Regions from separate parts of the Homo sapiens genome. Here region 2 is linked to region 1. Evidence: promoter capture Hi-C in 16 types of primary human blood cells and fetal thymus (Javierre and others, 2016). All regions are on one chromosome and are shown on one strand. The core of a region is centred on a gene start or on the middle of the fragment in contact, and the rest is flanking DNA. Distances in the headings are between cores, read along the strand shown. Region 1 holds the start of DHX35 (DEAH-box helicase 35). Region 2 has its middle 3.0 kb from the start of SRSF6.

Region 1 (5,888 bases), core at 2,272-4,771:
TTCCTGAACATGGTCAATAGGTTTAGTCTGGAAATTCAAAGCAAAAAATACCCTTTATCATAGGCACAGAAAAACTTCCATATTGTAACACGATTTTGAGGAACATTATCTTTCTGGAAAGCTTATCATTTGGAAGTTGCAAAATACACCTTTATGTAACAAAATGATTAGACTTTTATGGAATTGTTGGCAATCAACTAAATAAATTCTGGATGCCATCTCAAGAAATATCAGTTTTAATTTCAGAGCAGTTATTTTAGCCCATTCTTTCTGAAAATAGTTAATTAGGAAGACTAAGAATCTGTTGAGACCATTCCTAGTTTGTGGAAATAAAACCACAACATCAACATGCAGGTTATTACTTAGGTATTTTCTCTAACAGTAGTCTGTGTAGGCAAAATAACCCCTTGGGGAGAGTTGGACTTTGAGAACTTTCTAAGGCAGATGAACTAATTTTCTTCCAGGAGAGTGTAGCTCTAATGATTTTAAGTGGCCCATGTAGTTGAGCAAACACTGGCCTGGGAATTAGAAAGCCCGAGTTCTAGTTTTAGTTCTGATACTAAATTAACTCATTGATTCTGACCAAGTCCTTTTAACTTCTATGTACCTCAGTTTCCTATAAGACAAGAAATTCAGGCTAGGTGTTAAGTATGGTCTCCTCCAGCTTTAAGATTATGATCCATGAGACCAGCCTGACCAACATGGGGAAACTGTCTCTACTAAAAATACAAAAATTAGCCGGGCATGGTGGCGTGTGCCTGTAGTCCCAGCTACTAGGGAGGCTGAGGCAGGAGAATCGCTTGAGCCCGGTGGGTGGAGGTTGCAGTGAGATGAGATCTCGCCATTGCTTGCCAGCCTGGGCGACAGAGCAAGACTCCATCTAAAAAAGAAAAAAGATTATGATCCAATAATACAGGCATGGCCGATTTACTGTCTCTTCATAAACAGGAAGGTTTCATTATATGAGTAATAGATAAAATAGATAAGTTATTTTATTTATTTTTTTTTCTATTTTTTGAGATAGAGTCTCACTCTGTCGCCCAGGCTGGAGTGCAGTGGCGGATCTCTGCTCATTGCAACCTCTGCCTTCCGGGTTCAAGGGATTCTCCTGCCTCACCTTCCCAACTGGCTGGGATTACAGGTGACTACTACCACACCCGGCTAATTTTTTTGTATTTTTAGTAGAGACAGAATTTCGCCATGTTGGCCAGGCTGGTCTCGAACTCTTACCTCAGTTGATCTGCCTGCCTCAGTCTCCCAAAGTGCTGGGATTACAGGTGTGAGCCACCGTGCCAGGCCATGAAATAATCTTAAAAGTGGCATTTATTTCATTTTGCCTTATATTCATGTATAAACCTTGGTTTCCGTATTTGGGCTGTTAGTAAAATAAGACAAAAATAAAACAAGGAAAAATCAATGTCATGAAGAACTAAAACTAAGCCTAAAGCATGATGTTTATCTGTATATTACTCAATAGGCACTGCTACTGGGCTACGAATGTGAATGTGCCATGGTCCTCGTCCTCAGTAAGTTCCCTGTGTAATAGTGGCGGCAGGTAAACCACAGATCAACTAAAACTAAGCCTAAAGCATGATGTTTATCTATACATTACTCAATAGGCACTGTTATTGGGCTACGAATGTGAATGTGAATGTGAATGCTGACATGGTCCTTGTCTTCAGTAAGTTCCCTGTGTAATAGTGGCGGCAGGTAAACTACAGATCAACTAAAACTAAGCCTAAAGCATGATGTTTATCTACACTCAATAGGCACTTGTTACTGGGCTACGAATGTGAATGTGACATGGTCCTCGTCCTCAGTAAGTTCCCTGTGTAATAGTGGCGGCAGGTAAACTACAGATCAACTAAAACTAAGCCTAAAGCATGATGTTTATCTACACTCAATAGGCACTTGTTACTGGGCCACGAATGTGAATGTGACATGGTCCTCGTCCTCAGTAAGTTCCCTGTGTAATAGTGGCGGCAGGTAAACTACAGGCAACTAAACTACAGGTCACTTTTCTCACAAAAGTGAGAATACAGTTCCTAGACTACAAGGGGGAATGTTTAAGTTGGATAGATAATTTAGAGCTAGCCCTTTAAGGGATAAAGATAATTTAAAGGATGGATGGAGAATTCTAGGCCGAGGGACTAACAGATATTGAGTCCCTACATTAATTACTATAAAAATAAATCAAAGAAGATTCTTACATGAACCTATGCAGGTAAATTCAGATTTTTTTCCCCCTGGTGGATTTGCTCTGAGTTGAGGTAATGAGAGCTAACATTGATTCAGTGCCTGCTATGTTTTGCACTGTTAGGTACTTTACATGTTATCTCATGTAATACCTCTTTAAACCTCATTTTACAACTAAAATTAAATGACAGCTAGGAGCTAGGAAATGGCAAAGTTACGATTCCAAGTCTGGACTGGTTGTCCACAAAAGCCCCTGCTCTTGCCATAATGATGCCACTTCTTTCAAAGAATTCAGAATTTTCTTCACAGCTTTAAAAATGCATAGATTCTGAAGCCTCTCACTTCCTTCCAATTAGTTGCCTACCTAGAAAGTTATTTCCTCCACTTGAGCTCATCACCCCTTCTTAGCGCTCCTTTGGATTACTGTAATTTCTTTTTCTTTGACCTCACCTTTCGTCTGATGGATTAGTGTAATCTTTCCCAAATTTGTTAATCTGAAGAATTCAGGAGCTTCTCAAAATGCAGGTTCCCAAGCCATGCTCCAGGACATCGATTCAGAATTGGATCAAGGCCTAGAATCTGTGTTTTTAACAAGCATTTGACTCAAGGGTATCAAATTGGAGGAAGCACTGAGTTGGTGGACTACCTTAATTGATCTACCCATTTTCAGTCTCTTCTGCCAACCCATTCGCTCCACCCCACCCCCAGTCCGTTTTTCCGTTTTGCCCTCAAGGTCCCTGAAGACTTCCATATCATTTCGCATTGTTTTATTTGGGGCACTGTGCCGCACTACCTGGGCCCACAGCAGGCGCGCAATATTTACTGACAAATACAACCCACGAGGTAGTTCCTATTATTACCCTTCAATTTGAAATTGAGAATAAAACAGAAGTCGACAAGTTGAGGTAGCTTGTGACATCAGTATTTCGTATTTAATCCAGAAAGCACTGCTTCAACGCCCAGTGCGTGCAAGGTTCCACTCTCGGGCCAGCGGTCCTCTCCCAAAGCCCGTTCTTCCTAAGTGTGCGGCCGCCATCCAGGACACGCCACGCTCGTAAAAGGTCACCTGAAGCATCTACCCTCCACGCTCAAGAGGTAGGCGGAGGAGCGCGCCCTTTTCTCCAAAATGGCTGAGCAGGGTCACGTGGGCTCGGGGGCGGGGCCGGTGCGCTCGCCGGAGCCTGGAAGTGGGTCACGTGGCTCAGACGGGGGCGGTAGCTGTGGGGGCGTGGCCGTCACACGGCGCGATCCGTCTGGGCAGCGGCTCTTCGGGGGCCACGCCCTCCGGGCCCTGGGGGCCTAGCGCGCGACGGTGGGGTGGAGCTAGCCTCGTGACCTTTTACCCCAACATGGCTGCGCCCGTGGGACCGGTGAAGTTCTGGCGACCCGGTAAGGCCCTTGGTGGAACGCTGGGCAGATGCGGCGGCCTGACTTCGGTCTTGGCGCCGCGGCCGGCGCCCTGGGGCCAGCAGACCTGCTCGCAGGCCTGACCTCGGCGAGCTGGGCGCTGCCGCCTCTGTGCGGGGGGAGCTCTGGCTCAGGCTCCCCAGTGGTCCCGAGGGATTTGGGGGTGCTCCCCTAGCGTGAGCAGAAACTCTTTGTGACCTTGTTAAAGTGGTCCAGCCTCCTCAGGCCTCGTCTTCCTCGTTACTGATGCTTGTCCTGCCCACCCCGCGAGATGGGGAATCCTAAAGCTCCCTCTCGTGTCTCGTTAGCGCCCTGGGGTTGCGCTGTGGCCCGACAGACAATGCTGCTCGCTGCTGGAGGCTTGCAAGCCCAAGTTATGGAGTCAGACTGTCCGGGTTCGAATTTTCGTCTCTGCCTTGTAGTAGGGTGACCTTGGGCGAGTCACTTAATGCCTCTGAGCCATGACTTCTTTACCTGTAAAGTGGGCAGAACAATAGCTTCTATGCTGTGGGCTTAAATGACAAGCAGAACGCGTTGTCAGACTTAGAATAAATGCTCAAAAAAAGGGAAAGTGTGTTATTTTCTTTTAGGATAATTGTTGTCCACTCCGAATGTCTACTAGAAAAGGGAACAGTCCTTCATATTGGCTGCCAGCCACTTCCTCTCTTACAGACTAACACGAATCACAATCACAAAATGCTTTACTTGTTTTGTCTTGATATTTACTCATTAATCAGGTTTTTACTGAATGTGCATATGCCAGACCGTACTAGATGCATTACTTCCTCTCTGCAAACAGTTTCTTGTAAAAAACAAAAGTTTTTAAATTACAGCTACCAGCTTGATTTTTTTCTACCACCTGCACCCCTGCAGGTCTGGATGTGCAAAGTATATTGCAGCAAAAATGAAATGACACCAAGAATGTAATATAAGCAAAGCTTTTAATTTTTCAGTGGTTCTCTGAAATTCTGACCATGCATATAAGTGATGTGAGAGATAAACCCAAGCAAGAGATATGTTTAATGCTTTTTAAAAATTTGTAGTCTGTCACTTGACAGTTTTATGGTTCAGCATTTCAAGTCATCAGCCAATTATCCATCCTGAGTTTTATTTGCATCCAAAACTAGGAACTTACTAAGTAATGAATACTTTTAATTTATTCACGCTTTTAGTAACAGGTGAAAGTGTTAGGTATAATAAAGAGCTGAATTAATTGTTTGAAATCAGACCAGGGTACTATTTTGGTTAAAGAACGTGGAATTACTCTTAAGAGTTCTATTTCATTATTTAGTTCATCCATTGAGGGTACACTTATTGAAAACCTAATCCTGTGTTCAGGAGACAAATACAGATGCTCAGGGCTCTGCTCTCAAGTTACTGTCTCTCTCTTAATTGAATATAAAGTTAGATGTCCTCTAGAAGAGATTTTACAATGAGACAGAGTAAGGTGGTGGTAAAGAAGATGAGCTCTAGAGTCAGACTGCAGTGCCCATCATGTCTACCACTTACTAAGTTGATGACTTGATAGTCACTTAAATTCTCAAAGTCTCAGTTACTCCATCTGTAAATTGGGTATAATACCTACCCTACCCAAAGTAGTGTTGTGAGGTTTAAATGAGAATAACACACAACAGGATCTTGGCACTAGATAGGTTACTATTATAATTATATGGAAGTATGGAAGAGGGAGGGAAAGTTGAATGTATGGATAAGAAATACTTCATTAAGGTGGTATTTTTGGAGTGAACATTAAAGGATGAATAAGGTTTTGTTTCATAGAGAAATGGAACTCGAAGCAAAGGGTGCAGCATGAACAAAGGCAGAATGGGATTTGTGCCTTTAGAATGTCCAGAAAGCCAAAATAACAGAGCAGTGTGATAGTGTTAAGTGCTAGGGTATATTTTGGGGTATGACAGGAGATGAAGCTAGAAAAGTAGGTAAGGGCCTCATTGTGAAAGGTCTTCATGACAAGTTAAAAAGTTTAGACTTCACTGTTTTTTTGTTTTCTTTCTTTTTTTTTTTTGAGATGGAGTCTGGCTCAGCCGCCCAGGCTGGAGTGCAGTGGCGCAATCTCGGCTCACTGGAACTTCCACCTCCCAGGTTCAAGCGATTCTCCTGCCTCAGCCTCCTGAGTAGCTGGGACTACAGGTGTGTGCCACCACACCTAGCTAATTTTTGTATTTTTAGTAGAGATGGAGTTTCAGCATGGTGGCCAGGATGATCTCAATCTTTTGATCCCGTGATCTGCCCACCTCGGCCTCCCAAAGTGTTGGGATTACAGGCGT
Region 2 (5,888 bases), core at 3,389-5,888, 4.5 Mb after region 1:
CACTGCAGCCTGGATGACCAAGTGAGACTCTGACTCAAAAAAAAAAAAAAAGCGGGGTGGGGCGGGGCTTGAGGTGGTGTTATTTACAAAAACAATGGGATCATGCATATATTAAAACTTGCCTTCTTAACAACACTCAGAAGCATCATTAGTGGTCAGTCACACAGATTGAGGTAAGCAAACCTCTTCTGTGAAGAGCCAGCGAGGAAATAGTTCAGGCTTTGCAGGCTGGATAGTCTCTGTTGCAACCACTCAATATAATAACAAATCAAGACTGCTGTTGTAGCTTGAGAGGAGCCATAGACAATGTGTAAATGAATGGGTGATACTGTGTTCCCACAGAACCTTATTTACAAAACAAGTGGCAGGCCAAGATTTGACTGGGGCCCTAGTTTGCAAAGCTGACACATGACGTTACTATGGTTTTCCCAATGCTGAGAACAGTAGGCATTCGATAAATATTTATTTGAAATGAGAATAATCTTACTTATTTTCATTGTGGAAGAGTATTCCATGGCTTGAATAAGCATCCCTGGACCTATGATTTTACAAACTGGCCCCTTGTCAAATAGATTTCTAGGATTAAGGTTACTGGGTCAAAGGTTTATGAACTTGCTGTTTGTCAATTAACCACTACCTCCCTGAAACCCTTTCCACTCCTAGCTTCTGTGACACCACACTCTTTTCGGGTTTTTTCCTTACCTTTTTAGACACTTCCCAGTTGCCATTCCTAAATTTTTGGAAGGGAGGGGGACAGGTCTTCACTCTGTGGCCCAGGCTGGAGAGAAGTCACACAATCACGACTCACTGCAGCCTGAAACACCTGGGCTCAAGTGATCCTCCTGCCTTTGCCTCCCAAGTAGCTAGGACTACAGGTGCGTGCCGCCATGCCTACTAACATTTTTCTTTCTTTTTTTGACACGTAGTCTCGTTCTGTCGCCCAGGCTGGAGTGCAGTAGTGCAATCTCTGCTCACTGCGACCTCCACCTCCCGGGTTTAAGCGATTCTCAGTCTCCCGAGCAGCTGGGATTACAGGCCTGCACCACCACACACGGCTAATTTTTGTGTTTTTAGTGGAGACAGGGTTTCACCATTTTGGCCAGGCTGGTCTCGAACTCCTGACCTCAAGTGATCTGCCCACCTCGTCCTCCCAAAGTGTTGGGATTACAGGCGTTAGCCACTGTGCCTGGCCTTTTTTCATTTTTTGTAGACTTGCTATATTGCCCAGGCTGGTCTTGAACTCCTGGCCTCCAGAGATCCTCCCACCTCATCCTCCCAAAGCGCTAGGATTACAAGCACAAGTCCCTGCACCCAGCTTCCATTCCTAAATTTAACAAAATTTCAGAGTCCCTGTGGTAGTGTGTGTGGAATTGGTTCCTTCCGGTGGGTTCTTGGTCTTGCTGACTTCAAGAATGAAGCCGCGGACCCTCGCAGTGAGTGTTACAGTTCTTAAAGATGGTGTGTCCGGAGTTTCTCCTTCAGATGTTCAGATGTGTCCCGAGTTCCTTCCTTCCAGTGGGTTCGTGGTCTTAAGCTGCAGACCTTCTGCAGTGAGTGTTACAGCTCTTAAAGGTAGTGCGGACCCAAAGAGTGGGCAGCAGCAAGATTTATATGTGCATGTATACATAAATATGTATAGAGAGAGGCTTAAGTCCATGGAATGTAGTTAGGGAAAGGAGAATTTGACAATGATAACATTTGTTACTCATCAAACTCTCATTTTTAAAAAATTTATTAAAATTATTTGCAAGAGTTGAAGCAGGAAATGACACTCTTACGGTATTGGTGGGACTGGACATTGCTTTGGGGAGTTAGTGGGATAGTATTTATTGAAGGATAGGGAATTCGTTTGTCAAAGAGAAAGATGCAGCTGATATCATCCACTCTTCCTCTCACTTCTCTTTCCCAAAGCCCAGTGGCTACCCCTAACAAAAAACCCAAGAGCACTGCTGCGGAAGAGAAAACAGTTTCAAATATCATAATTGAGAGAGGTGCTGGATTGTCACCATTCTGTGGAGTCTTCCTGAGGACCCAACTCTGCTGATGTGTTGGGAGAACAACTCAAAGGAGAAATGGTAGATGTGCAGCATGGGAGCTCATATCTTTTCTTATTTCTTTCTTTCCTTTCTCTCCTTTCTTTTTTAGACAAGAGTCTTGCTCTGTCACCCAGGCTGGAGTGAAGTGGAGCCATCATACCTCACTGCAGCCTTGACCTCCAGGGCTCAAGTGATCCTCCCACCTCAGTCCCTGGAGTAGCTGGGACTACAAGTATACGCCGCCAGTACTGGCCTTTTTTTTTTTTAAGAGATGGAGTCTTGCTATGTTGTTCAGGCTGGTCTTGTGCTCCTGGGATCAAGTGATCCCATCTCTGCCTCTCAAGGTGATGGGATTACAGGTGTGAGCCACGGTGCCCGGCAAATCCCCTCTCGTAGCAACTCAGGTGTATTTGTATGGAGTGGAGTGAATATAGCAGTAGTTGCTCCAGGAACAGAATCCAGAATTGGAAACTGTCAGTGACAGAGTTAGAAAGAATCATGAATCAGATGACTGAAAGATCCTCTGAGGCTCTTCCAACTGGGAGATTGGATTGCATGTTGCCAAGCTAGTCCAAACTTCGTTTTAAAAACTTCCATAGGCTGGGCATGGTGGCTCATGCCTGTAATCCCAGCACTTTGGGAGGATGAGGCTTGAACTCCTTGAGCCCAGGAGATCAAGATCAGCCTGGGTAACATAGGGAGACCCTGCCTCTATTTAAAAAAGAAAAGAAAAAAACTTCTGTACAGGATTCATTTGGAATAGCACTTCTCAACCTCAGCTATTGACATTGGGGACCAGATAATCCTTCGTGGTGGGGCTGTCCTGTGCCTTGCAGGATGTTTCGTGGCATCCCTGGCCTCTACCCATGAGATACGAGCAGCTCCTTCCCTCCTCCAGCTGTGACAACCAGAAAGTCTTCAGATATTGACAGATGTCCGCAGGGGGGACAGAACTACCCCCTGTTGAGAACCACTGCCCCCTGTTGAGAGCCTTCCCAATAGCTGTGACTATAGGCATGTGCCACCATGCCCAGCTAATTTTTTAAAAAAAAAGTTTTTTGTAGAGATGGGATCTTGCCATGTTGCCCAGGTTGATATCGAACTCCTGGGCTCAAGCAATCCTCTCACCTGGGCCTCCCAAAGTGCTGGGATTACAGGCGTGAGCTACTACGCCTTGCTCCTTGCTTTTCTTTATTTCATTGAGTCAGTGTCTTGCTTTGTCATCCAGGCTGCAGTGCAGTGGCATGATCATAGCTTACTGCAGCCTCGAACTCCTGGGCTCAAGAGATCTTCCTGCCTCAGCTTCCCAAGGTGCAGGGATTACAGAATCATATTTTTTATCTGACTTTAAGCACGGTCTCTATCTCCCCCAGTCGTGACAAACAACGTTTCCCTCCAGACTGCCAAATAGCTCCAGGAGGGCAAACCCCGCCCCCCCTTTTCAACCCGAAGCGGAAGGATATTGAGGTTGCACCACTCAAAACAGAGCAGGAATACAAAAATATCCAAAGAGCTGGTGTTGGGCTTGGCACAATGGCTCACGCCTATAATCCCAGCACTTTGGGAGGCAGAGACGGGTGGATCACCTCAGGTTGGGAGTTCGAAACGAGACCAGCCTAACATGGTGAAACCCCGTCTCTACTAAAAATACAAAATTAGCTGGGCGTGGTGGTGCATGCCTGTAATCCCAGCTACTCGGGAGGCTGAGGCAGGAGAATCACTTGAACCCAGGAGGCGGAGGTTGCAGTGAGCCGAGATGGCACAGGTGTGAGCCACAGAGCCTGGCCTGGGCTGCGTTCTTTCAGGAGGCTCTGGGGCGAATCTGTTCCCTCGTGTCTTCCAGCTTCCAGAGGCTACTGGCACCCTTTGGCTTATGGTTCCTTCCTCCATCTTCAAAGCCATTAACTTCGGTTGTGACTTTCTTACAGCCAATCACTCTGACCCCAATCCCAGCCTCCTTTGTCACATCTGCTTCTCTGACTGTGGCTCTCCTGTCCCCCTCTTGTAATCACCCTTATGATCACATGGGGCCCACCTGGACAATCCCGGGGCATCTCTGCATCTCAAGATGCTCAACTTAATCAGATCTGCAAAGTCCCTTTTGACATACAAGGTAACATCTTCACAGGTTTCAGGGATTAGGATTAGGATTAGGACATAGACATCTTTAGGGGGAACCCTTATTCTGCCTACCGAGGTGAAGAGGTGAAGCCGGCTGGGCTTCTGGGTTGGGTGGGGACTTGGAGAACTTTCCCGTCTAGCTAAAGGATTGAAAACACACCAATCAGTGCTCTCTGTCTAGCTAAAGGTTTGTAAACACACCAATCAGCACTCTGTAAAAACGGACCAATCAACATTCTGTAAAATGGACCAATCAGCAGGATGTAGGCAGGGCCAAATAAGGGACTAAAAACTGGCGGTCCAGCCAGCAGTGGCAACCCGCTCGGGTCCCCTTCCACGCTGCGGAAGCTTTGTTCTTTCCTTCAGGCAGGTTGGAGTCTTGCTTTGTCACCCAGGCTGGAGTGCAGTGGCATGATCATAGCTCACTGCAGCCTCGAACACCTGGGCTCAAGAGATCCTCTTGCCTCAGCTTCCCAAGGTGTGGGGATTACAGACTCGTATTTTTTATTTATCTAACTTTAAGCACGGCCTCTACCTCCCCCAGTCGTGACAAACAACGTTTCCCTCTAGACTTCCAAATAGCTCCAGGAGGACAAAACCCCCCTTTTTCAACCCGAAGCTTAAGGATATTGAGGTTGCACCACTCAAAACAGAGCAGGAATACATAAATATCTAAAGAGCTGGTGTTATCTCAGTGATATCCCTTTTTTTTTTTTTTTTTTTTTTTAGCTTCGGCGGTGACACCTACTCTCCTGGTCTTCTCCCTACCTCGCTAGTCACTCCTCCCAGTCTCCTTTCCTGCGCTTAAATTTCAGAGTACCCCAGGCGTTGGCCTGGGTCTTCCGCTCTCCACTTAAACTTACTCCTTTGAGGTTTTCAATCTGGTTCTACAGCTTTAAATAGCATCTCCATTGATAAACTCACAAAATAAGGCACTTTCAAGTCAGTGGAGGAAATGATAGTATTGGGACAAAGGACTTTCCATACACGGGAGAAAAAAAATCGTTCGTCGCTGTGGGAGGGCTGCCGGGTCTCGTCCACGCTCCCTTTTGAGCACCTACAGTGAGCGTAGGATTGCCACGGATAGCCCAATCCACAAGTGAGTCAAGCTGCCAGGGCTCCAAGAAAGACCCATGGAGGGAGAGGGGAACGTCCGGGGAGGCGAAGGCTGCGAGTGAGACCCGGAGAGGCTGATGTCGGCGGGTCTGCGCGCTCGCAACGCGACCTCCGCCCGGTCAGCAAGACCTCGGCGCGCGATCCTCAGATTCTGCGAAACAAGACAAGCGACTGGGTCCGAGACCGCGGTCCCCATCAAAACGAGCATCAACCAATCGCTGGGAGAAATCCGCAGCCTCGTTTTAAGCCACCAAGCAGAGACCGCGGCGACCTATTATGATAACCTCGAGAACCAATGAAAAACGGGGATTCGCTCAGCCCGCCTCCCGAGCTTCAACCCCGAAGAGATCGCGCACAGTTTTATAAAAGGTACAAATTAGAAAGCAGTTCTGCGGCTGGATTAGAGACATTGTGTTTTCAAAGACGGTGGGGAGGGCTAGAGAAAAATCCTAGAAGCTAGCAAGACCGCACTACACCGAAACGTCGCGGGCAACGGACTCGCCAGTCACCATCTAGCCCAGGGACGACGCGGGACGGACGTGCCGCTGCGCGCTGACATCACGCTCCAGGCCCCGCCCCACCGGCCGCCCATATAGCGAAAGCCTGGCGCGCGCG

What was found. Contacts are between HindIII fragments. The CHiCAGO score rates a contact against its expected background, and 5 or more counts as called.
Region 2: a fragment that was not itself captured here is called in contact with the fragment with the promoter of DHX35 in region 1 in 1 of 17 cell types (monocytes); the score reaches 9.9 in monocytes.

What each region holds. Positions count from the first base shown.
Region 1 is chr20:38,958,823-38,964,710 of GRCh38, forward strand. DHX35 (DEAH-box helicase 35) reads left to right here and starts at 3,522. Exons shown (of 22, transcript NM_021931.4): 1 at 3,522-3,585. The coding sequence starts at 3,546. RefSeq lists a silencer at 3,387-3,506 and an enhancer at 3,547-3,856. The HindIII fragment of the contact is 4,420 bases long and covers 120-4,539 here.
Region 2 is chr20:43,452,002-43,457,889 of GRCh38, forward strand. No RefSeq gene overlaps it. Among named protein-coding and RNA genes, the nearest start is that of SRSF6, 3.0 kb to the right of the region's middle. RefSeq lists enhancers at 5,232-5,551, 5,612-5,771, 5,693-5,888. The HindIII fragment of the contact is 271 bases long and covers 4,504-4,774 here.